Linked DNA regions of Homo sapiens: all the other regions are linked to region 2. The links are contacts of gene promoters, found by promoter capture Hi-C in human tissues and cell types (Jung and others, 2019). All regions are on one chromosome and are shown on one strand. The core of a region is centred on a gene start or on the middle of the fragment in contact, and the rest is flanking DNA. Distances in the headings are between cores, read along the strand shown. Region 1 overlaps P2RY6 (pyrimidinergic receptor P2Y6). Region 2 holds the start of PLEKHB1 (pleckstrin homology domain containing B1). Region 3 has its middle 8.4 kb from the start of DNAJB13.

What was found. Contacts are between HindIII fragments. The study calls those that stand out against the background at their distance.
Region 1: a contact is called between a fragment that was not itself captured here and the fragment with the promoter of PLEKHB1 in region 2, in 1 of the 25 tissues and cell types used here (aorta).
Region 3: a contact is called between a fragment that was not itself captured here and the fragment with the promoter of PLEKHB1 in region 2, in 1 of the 25 tissues and cell types used here (hippocampus).

Annotation. Positions count from the first base shown.
Region 1 is chr11:73,295,094-73,298,147 of GRCh38, reverse strand. It overlaps P2RY6 (pyrimidinergic receptor P2Y6), which reads right to left. Exons shown (of 3, transcript NM_001277204.2): 2 at 2,333-2,418; 3 at 1-1,663. The coding sequence starts at 1,629. The coding sequence ends at 643. Among named protein-coding and RNA genes, the nearest start is that of ARHGEF17, 12 kb to the left of the region's middle. RefSeq lists an enhancer at 2,742-2,791. The HindIII fragment of the contact is 6,460 bases long and covers 1-3,054 here.
Region 2 is chr11:73,644,773-73,647,830 of GRCh38, reverse strand. PLEKHB1 (pleckstrin homology domain containing B1) reads right to left here and starts at 1,250. Exons shown (of 8, transcript NM_021200.3): 1 at 1,205-1,250. The coding sequence starts at 1,222. RefSeq lists enhancers at 1-131, 767-1,685 and a silencer at 172-391. The HindIII fragment of the contact is 18,602 bases long and covers 1-3,058 here.
Region 3 is chr11:73,940,982-73,944,294 of GRCh38, reverse strand. No RefSeq gene overlaps it. Among named protein-coding and RNA genes, the nearest start is that of DNAJB13, 8.4 kb to the left of the region's middle. The HindIII fragment of the contact is 7,569 bases long and covers 1-3,313 here.

The sequences.
Region 1 (3,054 bases), core at 289-2,788, 350 kb after region 2:
GGACTGGGTCATGGGCACTGTCTGTGTACCCCCTCCCCCCAGCCATGCTTCCCTCTGTCACAACCCTGATGTTGCTGTGCCAGTCTGTACTTCCAGCAGTTGGGAGCCCGTATGGACCAGGGCTAGGACTGGTTCTTCTAGGGCCCCAGAACCAACACAGGCCTGAGCACAAGGTGTCAGTAAAGGCTTTCTAAATAAATGGAATATCACTCCTCTCCAGAGAGCTCATAATCATCCCTCAAAACCCAGCTCAAATGCCCCTTCCCAGAAGCTCTCACCTCCCCCTCTCATCTTCCCTCACCCGCTTCATTGGTGACTCAAAGCATGGAGCATACCCCTTGATGACAGTACACGTCACACTGTATTTTTGTGAGCACCTTAATGTGGTTTCCCCAGCTCTCCATGGCTGACTGGGACCTCTCAAGAGCCAGGCCCAGGTCTGTCCATCTCCATGCCCACAGGGTCTGGGCCAGAGAAGGGGCTGAAGAAATAGTTTTTGGTGAGCTTCTGGGTCCTGTGAGGGATCTTAACTCCATGCCCAGCTGAGCTGAACTCTAATTCTCCGCATGGTTTGGGGTTGGTGGGGCTCCTGGTGCCCCGGACACAATGGCAAATATGAAGGCTGCCCAGGACCTGGAGGACTCAGCGACCCTGCCTCTGCCATTTGGCTGTGAGTTTCTGTAGGAGCTCATGTGGTCGCCGGCGGAACTTCTTCTGGGTGAAGTAGAAGAGGATGGGGTCCAGCACGCTGTTGGCACTGGCAAACGGCCGCGTGCCTTTGTAGGCCGCTGCAAAGGCCTCCAATACAGTGCAGGGGACGCCCGGCGTCGAGCGCACTGCCAGGTAGGCTGTCTTGGTGATGTGAAAAGGCAGGAAGCTGATGGCAAAGGCAGCAGCCACCACCACGGCCATGCGGGCCGCCTTGCCACGCCGCTCCTGGGCCACAGGCTCTGCCGGGCCATCCTGGCGGCACAGGCGGCAGGCCAGGAGACAGTAGCAGGCCAGCAGGGCAGCAAAGGGCAGCAGGAAGCCGATGACAGTGAGAGCCATGCCATAGGGCATATAGTGGGTGGCCAGGGCAGGCGGGCTGAGGTCATAGCAGACAGTGCGGTTACGCTGGATGCCTGTGGCAGCGAAGATGGCTGTGGGCAGGCACTGGGTTGTCACGGCCAGCCACACGGCTACACACACTAGCCAGGCAGCCCGGCGGCCCCCACGTTTGTGCCAGGGGGCCAGCGGGTGGCAGATGCCCAGGTAGCGCTGGAAGCTGATGCAGGTGAGGAAGAGGATGCTGCCGTGCAGGTTGGCATAGAAGAGGAAGCGGACCAGGCGGCAGGCGAAGTCGCCAAAGGGCCAGTGATCACCTTGGGCATAGTTGTAGATGAGCAGGGGCAGGGAGCAGGCATATAGCAGGTCAGCCAGAGCAAGGTTTAGGGTGTACACGGCCGTGCGGGTCAGGGCCCGGCGGGACGTGCAGATCTGGGTAATGACACAGATGTTCAGCGGCAGGCCAGCCGCCAGCACCGCCGAATACACAGGTGGCAGCAGCAGTTGCTTGAAGTTCTCGCGGTAGACACAGGTGGTGGGTGGCAAGCCCAGAGCCTGGCCTGTGCCATTGTCCCATTCCATGGCTGCCCAGGTGGGTTTCCTATGTTCAGGGAGGCTGGGAAAGCAATACACAGCCTGTCAGTGACATGCTCACTCACCACCCAGCAGGCCCTGCCCCTCCTCGGGCCTTGATCTCCCTGTCTGAACAGTGAGGGCACTAACTTTGTCAACTCGGCTACTCTAACCACCCCGTGAAGCCCCACAGAGCCCTCACTTTGAGAAAACTTGGGATACAATAAAGCTAACTCTTGGGAGCAATCTGATTCATTTTGTTTATATATTATATATATATATATATATATATATTTTTTTTTTTCCTTCAGCCTTCCTAGTGAACTTCTATTCATCCTTCAAAGCCCTGATCATATGTTTCTTTCTCTGTTAGTGGAGATTGATGGACTTGGGTTTGAATCCCAACTCTGTTATGCATTTGCTATATGACCTTGAGGTGGTGATTTCATTTCACCCGAGAAAAGGGGGAATGCGGCACCTGCCTCTCAGGGATGTCACGAGGTTAGAAGCACTAAATCATGCTGTGCAGGGCTGCCAGGGGCTCACTGGGGTGTGGAGACTCTGGTCATGGTGGATCTGCATGTCTCTCAGAGACTGAGACCTGCCTGAGAACAGGGGCCAGGTCTGGTGTCTCTCTGCATCTTCGCCCAGGGTCTGGGGCGGAAAAGGGCCCTGATAACTCTTAGTTAACCAATGCGAAGGGTCCACACACCAGGGGCTCACTGAGGACCGCACCCATCTCCTCAGCCTGAACTCCGCCTTCCAAAGCCATGGTTCTTCTGGCAGAGGTCTTGTTATCTGTAAAATAGGGGAAGGAGGTGATACCCAGTTCCCCAAGGCTTCTTTCCACTTGAGGCTACAAAGGCAGGTTTGGCAGAGCCTCTGACAACACAGCGCCTCCTAGTGCCCAGAGTGAAAACAGCGTCCCTGAAGGCGGATGGGTGAGGGACCGAGTCAACCGTTTGTTTACAGAGATGGAAATCCAGGCACAGTGAGGGGCAGGGACTGCTCCTTCTTTCTTCGTGACTCAGAGCAGAGTCAGAACCAGAACCCAACTGCCCAATCCAGAAGAGACAGCTTAGTGTAGCCCACAGACATGGGATGTAGAGGTTACATGACCAACTTCAGAGCTAGGCAGGCCTGGGTTTAAATGTTGCTCCCCCACTTCCATGCTGTGTGAAGCAGGTTATGTCACAGTGTCCTCATCAGTGAAATATGCGGTGATGACATTCAGTAGTGCTCAATAAATGCCATGCCATTGCATTCTACATCTTGTCCCTCCTCTCATTCTTTCGGGCTGGGTTTTGGGAGAGCCAGCAGCACAAATACCCTAAGGGGTTCCCTGATGGGGTAAGTCTGACTCCTAGACACTCACCTCGAAACTGACATTGCCATATTACTGGTGTCTAGAGAAAATTTGCAACTTAAATCCAA
Region 2 (3,058 bases), core at 1-2,500:
CCGCTCCCTCCCCTCTCCACGGTCTTGACACAGATCAGACAAGAGGGTCAGGTGCAGACTCCTTTTCCAGCCCCTCCCCTTGATGCACCCACCTTGTCTACACTTGTTGCGGATGTTGCTGCCTAAGCGGCCGCTACTCGATGCTGCTGCCACCCAACCCGCTGCGCCTGCGCTTTGTGTGCCCCGGAGAGCCTGGGGCATTTCTCTCCTCCCGCAGCGCCTGAGAGCCCAGCTGCCCCCGGGCCCCGCCCTCCGGACCTGCCCACCCCAGGGAGGGGGAGTGACGTGAAGAGATGCTGACCCGAGGCGTACTGGGACTTGTAGTCTACCCCTGTAGAGCTGGGCAGAAGCAGCCCCGCCTGCAATTTTACTTTTCTATTAAGACATTTGTTCACTCATTTATCATGAAATACTTTTTCTTAAGAATCATTGAACTCAGTTCCTAGAAAAAAAGAAAAAGTAAAGTTGCAAGGAGAAGCCAAGCTCCTAGTTTTGCATGTTTTTTTGATGCTTCCCCTTTCCATCCCCAGCTTCCAGTCTAGTGAGGGAGATTACATGGAAACACACAATTGGAGCACAAGGTGTGATTTAACAATGGAAAAGATGAGCCTGACTTTTCTCAAGGGGTTCAGGAAGGCTTCCCAGAGGAGGCTGAAAGGGGCCTTGGAGGATGAGGGGCAGTTTCCTAGGCGACCCGAAATTTCCCCTATGAATACTGTCAGGATGTTGAAGAGTGCCCAGCATTTCCGTGTGTCTAGAACATAAAGCGCAGGGGTGGGGAGGGCATCGGGAGTGTCAGGCGATAGAGCTGCAGGGTTTGGAAAGAAATAGCACAGAGGCCTTGCATGACAGGCGGAGAGCTTGGATGTTAGGACGCAGTGACTGGAGCTGGGGGTGGGAGTTTCAAGATGAGGAGTGAGGTGTGTGATTAGGGGGTCGGAAAGGCCCCTCTAGGGCACAGTGAAGAATGGACTGGCGGGAGCCCACCTGGAGAAAGGAAGACTTTCTGTATCTATCACCTCGGACTGTGATCATTTCCTTCAATAGCTCAGCCCCGCAAACCCTCACCTACCAGCAGCCACAGGATGTCATTCAGAGACCAGAGGATGTCAGGGCCTAAAAGACTTCTGTCCCGTCCCCTATGTGGCAAGGGTGCCCACCCTGCCCTGGGCCCTTCCTCCTGTCCCAGAGAACTCTTCCTTACCGGGGCTGCAGGGCTCATGGTTCCTGGGTGGCCAGGGCAGCATTTCCCAGAAGGCTCCCGCAGCGGGGCATTTCCCTGAGCGCCTTAGAGATAAGGGGATCAGGAAGGTGCTACCAAGTGGGAGGCTGGAGGGGGAGGCAAGGAGGGAGCGCACAGATCCCAAGGAAGGTCGCCCTCTTTCTCCAGGCTCCTCCCAGCCTTTCCAACTGATGGCTCTGACCCTAGGTTCACTAGACAAGTCATCCCTGATTCAGAAGTGGTCTTGGCTCAGCATCGCCGAGGTTCCCGGAGTGGAATCGGGGCGAGGTTGCGGGGGCAGGACAGGAACCGGGCTGGTCCTCCTCCCTAGGTTGGGGGCGGGGCTACATCTTCATTCTTTGGCCTGGCAGGACAGCGCCCATCACCCCAGTCCTGGCTGCGCAGTCTGGCTCTTTAAGCCTTCCTCTCTTGCTCCTGAGTCTCTGTAATCCTGACCTCGAGCTACCCTCGCTCCTCGGCCCTTTGTGCGGTGCGTGCCCTGCTGAGGGATTCGCCATGGCCAATCCTATTAACCATTGAGTTCATCCCCTCTTAGCCGACTCAAGAACCAGCTCTCCCATACCGCGTTTTCATCTCTGTGCCTTTAACTCACTCTCTGTCTGGTTCCTGGAACGTCCCAGTCCCAGCTTCTCCTAGCTAAATTTTCCACCTCCACAGTGGAAGGAAGAAAGGAAGCAGTGGGAGGGGGAAAGAGGCAAGGAAAGAGATATGGAAGGAAGGAAAGACAGAAGGAGAAAAGAAGGGAGGGGAAAGACGGGAAGGCAGGTAGGTAGGGCTGCAGCTGGCCTCGGAGGATCTGCGCCTGGGTCCTGCCCCGACCCAGCCTCTCTCCAGCTCTCCCTGCTCCCCTCCCCGATGGGCAGTGGGGCATCCTTCATGTTGAGGGGCGGGGACGGTGCAATCATCTCCTAGATTTCATTCTCTGGATTTAGCAACCAGATGAAAAAGGAAGGTTCTCCAGCAGCAGTGGAGACTTCAGGGGAAGACTCTCCCCTACCTCCCAAAGAGCGGGCACTATGACGAAAAAAAGAGGAAAGGACGTGGCAAACTAAAACCACAGACACTACTACCGAATCTAAACGTAGCCGGACTTGGCCCATGTCTCTAAAAGCTGGTCAGTGACCCTCTTTGAGAAGCCAATAAGGAAGTGTAGACTGTCCTCAGGAAAAAATCTGCGTATAATTCCTGGGAGTTCATAGACCTCTGAAGCCATGATAGTCATGGTTGGATTGTTTTTAATTTCCAGAGCTGTGTAGATGGGAGGAGAGTGTAGATTGACGAGTGAGAGGTATGACAGTATGTCAGGAATTCCAGCCGCAGCAGTCCTGGCTGTGAGAGACTTTGTTTGTTCAATCAACTAAAACTTATTGAGACTAATAAGCCAACAAGTAACTTTTACATTTCTTTGTGGCTATGGTGCACAGAACCATTGGCAGAGAGGAAAAGATTTTGCCATTTCAAGTGTCCCTGGTGAATGAACAGCCCACAGATAATACATTGTTTAGGAAATAGTGGACTGGCTCATCAAATTCAAATTTACTACTTACATTTTCTAGAGAGTATAATATAATGAGAATAATTTATATTATCTTTATTTTAAAAAACTTGAAGTTTATATCAAGATGCAATTTGAGCAAAAGTAAAAGTGCTTATGAAAACATTTTAAATGGCCGGGCGCTGTGGCTCATGCCTGTAATCCCAGCACTTTGGGAGGCCAAGGCGGGCAGATCACCTGAGATCGGGAGTTCGAGACCAGCCTGACCAATATGGAGAAACCCCATCTCTACTAAAAATACAAAATTAGCTGGGTGTGGT
Region 3 (3,313 bases), core at 140-2,639, 300 kb before region 2:
GTTTGGCTAACTGCCAAACTGGTTTGGGTGGAGCAATGGCCACTGAAACGGGAAAAACTGGAGGCTTTAAAAGAATTGGTGCAAGAACAATTGCAAAAGGGACACATAGAGCCTACTTTCTCTTCTTGGAATTCTCCTATGTTTGTCATTAAGAAAAAATCAGGGAAATGGAAAATGTTAACAGACTTGAGGGCCGTTAATGCTGTAATTCAACTCATGGGCGCGCTGCAACCAGGGCTGCCCTCCCCAACTACGATTCCTAAATACTGGCCTCTCATAGTGATAGATTTAAAAGGTTGCTTTTTTACCATTCCTTTAGCGACCCAAGATTATGAAAAATTTGCTTTTACTGTTCCCGTCATAAATAACAAAGAATCAGCAGATAGATACTATTGGAACGTATTTCCACAAGGCATGTTAAATAGCCCAACTATTTGTCCAACTTATGTTGTTAAAGTTTTTATGCCAGTTAGAAAACAGTTTAAAAAATGTTATATCATCCGTTACATGGATAATATCTTATGTGCAGCTGAAACTAGGGAGGAATGAATACTATGCTACAAACAGAAAAGGCTGTAACTGCTGCAGGATTAATCACAGCCCCCGATAAAATCCAAACTTCCACTCTATTTCAATATTTAGGAAGGAAAGTAAAACAAAGTACTATTAAGCCTCAAAAGGTTCAAATTCAAAGAGATAATTTAAAAACTCTAAATGAGGCCGGGCGTGGTGGCTCACGCCTGTAATCCCAGCACTTTGGGAGGCTGAGGTGGGTGGATCACAAGGTCAGGAGATGGAGACCATCCTGGCTAACACGGTGAAACCCTGTCTCTACTAAAAATACAAAAAATTAGCCAGGCGTGGTGGCAGGCACCTGTAGTCCCAGCTACTAGGGAGGCTGAGGCAGGAGAATGGCATGAACCCAGGAGGCGGAGCTTGCAGTGAGCCGAGATTGCACCACCGCACTCCAGCCTGGGTGACAGAGCGAGACTCTGTCTCAAAAAAAAAAAAAAAAAAAAAAAAAACCTCTAAATGATTTTCAAAAATTATTCCCACTTTAGGCATTCCTACTTATGCTATGTCTCACCTCTTTTCTAACTTATGAGGTGATTCTGATCTTAACAGCAAATGCTCTCTATCCAAAGAAGCATTGTAAGAACTTCAATTAATTGAAGAAAAAATTCATCAGGCACAAGTGACTTGAATTGATCTACTACAGCCATTACAGTTTTTCATTTTTCCTACTAAACATTCAACTACAGGTGTTACTGTTCAACAGGATGATCTAGCTGAGTGGCTTTTTCTACCTCACAATACAACTAGAACACTTACTCTGTACTTAGATCAAATTGCTGTACTGATAGGTCAAGCAAGGCTGTATACAACAAAATTAATGGGATATGATCCAAATCAAATTATAGTTCCTTTAAATAAACAACAAATTCAGCAAGCTTATGTTAACTCCCAGAAATGGCAAGTTAATTTAGCTGGTTTTATTGGTATACTTGATAATCATTATCCTAAATCCAAAATATTCCAATTTCTAAAATTGACATCATGGATATTACCCTCCACTACTCAAAAGACCCCTATTGAAGGGGCCAATACTGTTTTTACTGATGGATCTAGTAATGGAAAGGCCTCATTTGTAGGACCTCAACAACAAGTTGTTCAAACTGACTTTGCTTCTGCTCAAAGGGCTGAACTTATGGCTGTAATTACAGTACTAAAAACCTTTAAACAGCCAGTAAACATTATTTCTGATTCGGCCTATGTGATGCAAGCTGTGCAAAATATTGAATGTGCCTTAATTGAAAATGTAACTGATGATCAACTCAATCTTTTATTTCATTCTTTACAACAAGCAGTACAACAAAGGCATTCCCCTTTGTATATCACTCATATAAGAGCACATACTAACCTCCCCGTCCCTTTAACCAAACTCAATCAAAGGGCAGATGCACTGGTTTCTGCAGCTTTTACTGATACACAAACATTCCATTCTTTAACCCATCCTAATGCTGCAGGCCTTGGAAACAGATATGGCTTATCTTGGAAACAGGCTAAGGAAATTGTACAACATTGCTCTGCCTGCCAAGTCTTACACCTGCCACATCAAGGAACAGGAGTTAACCCTAGAGGTTTATCTCCAAATTCCATCTGGCAGAGGGATGTAACACATGTTCCTGCCTTTGGAAAGTTGTCCTTTGTTCATGTTTCAGTAGATACTTACTCACATTTTATTTGGGCCACATGTCAAACAGGAGAAGCTACAGCTCATGTTAAAAGACATCTTTTACCTTGCTTTGCAGTTATGGGAATCCCAGAAAAAATCAAAACTGATAACGGCCCAGGGTACTGTAGTAAAGCTATGGCTACATTTTTTTCAACAGTGGAATATTACCCATACTACAGGTATTCCATATAACTCACAAGGACAAGCAATAGTTGAAAGAGCTAATCATGCTTTAAAAACTCAAATACAAAAACAAAAAGGGGGAGACCAGGAATATAAAACACCGCATATGCAATTACACTTAGCTTTATTAATATTACATTTTCTAAATTTACAAAAAGATCAATCCATGACTGCAGCTGAACAACACTTGACAGGACAAAAGGAAAACAAAAAGGCCAGACAAGATATATGATGGAGAGATACTCACACAAAAAACTGGGAAAAAGGAAAGATAATTACGTGGGGAAGAGGATTTGCTTGTGTCTCTCCAGGTGAAAATCAGGTACCTGTGTGGGTGCCCATCAAACATCTGAAGATCTATCATGAGCCACACCAGGAAGAGAGGACTCTGGGAAGAGCCAGAGCTCCCAATACGAGTGATGGCGTGAATGAACATCTCAGAGACAAAAGAGAAGACCGAGAATACTCGTCAGGCGGATCCTCCAACATGGGGACAAATCAAGAAGCTGGCGCAGATGGCAGAGGACAGCTTGAGAGCACAGAACAAACCAAAAACAACTAGTAACTTAATGGTGGCCATGCTGGCAGTACTCACTGTGGCGATAAGCCTCCCTACTGTAGGAGCAACTCAAAATTTTACTTATTGGGCATATGTCCCATTTCCTCCTTTAATTAGGTCTGTGAGTTGGATGGACCCGGTTATTGAGGTGTACACCAACAACAGTACCTGGATGCCTGAGCCCATAGATAATCAAGGCCAATGCATTCTAATGAGGAAGGGATGAAAATGAATATATCAATAGGATATAAATATCTTCCAATATGCCTGGGACCTGCCGCTGGATGCTTACAAATTGGCACACAAGTCTGGTTGGCAGTAATCCCTGGAAAAAA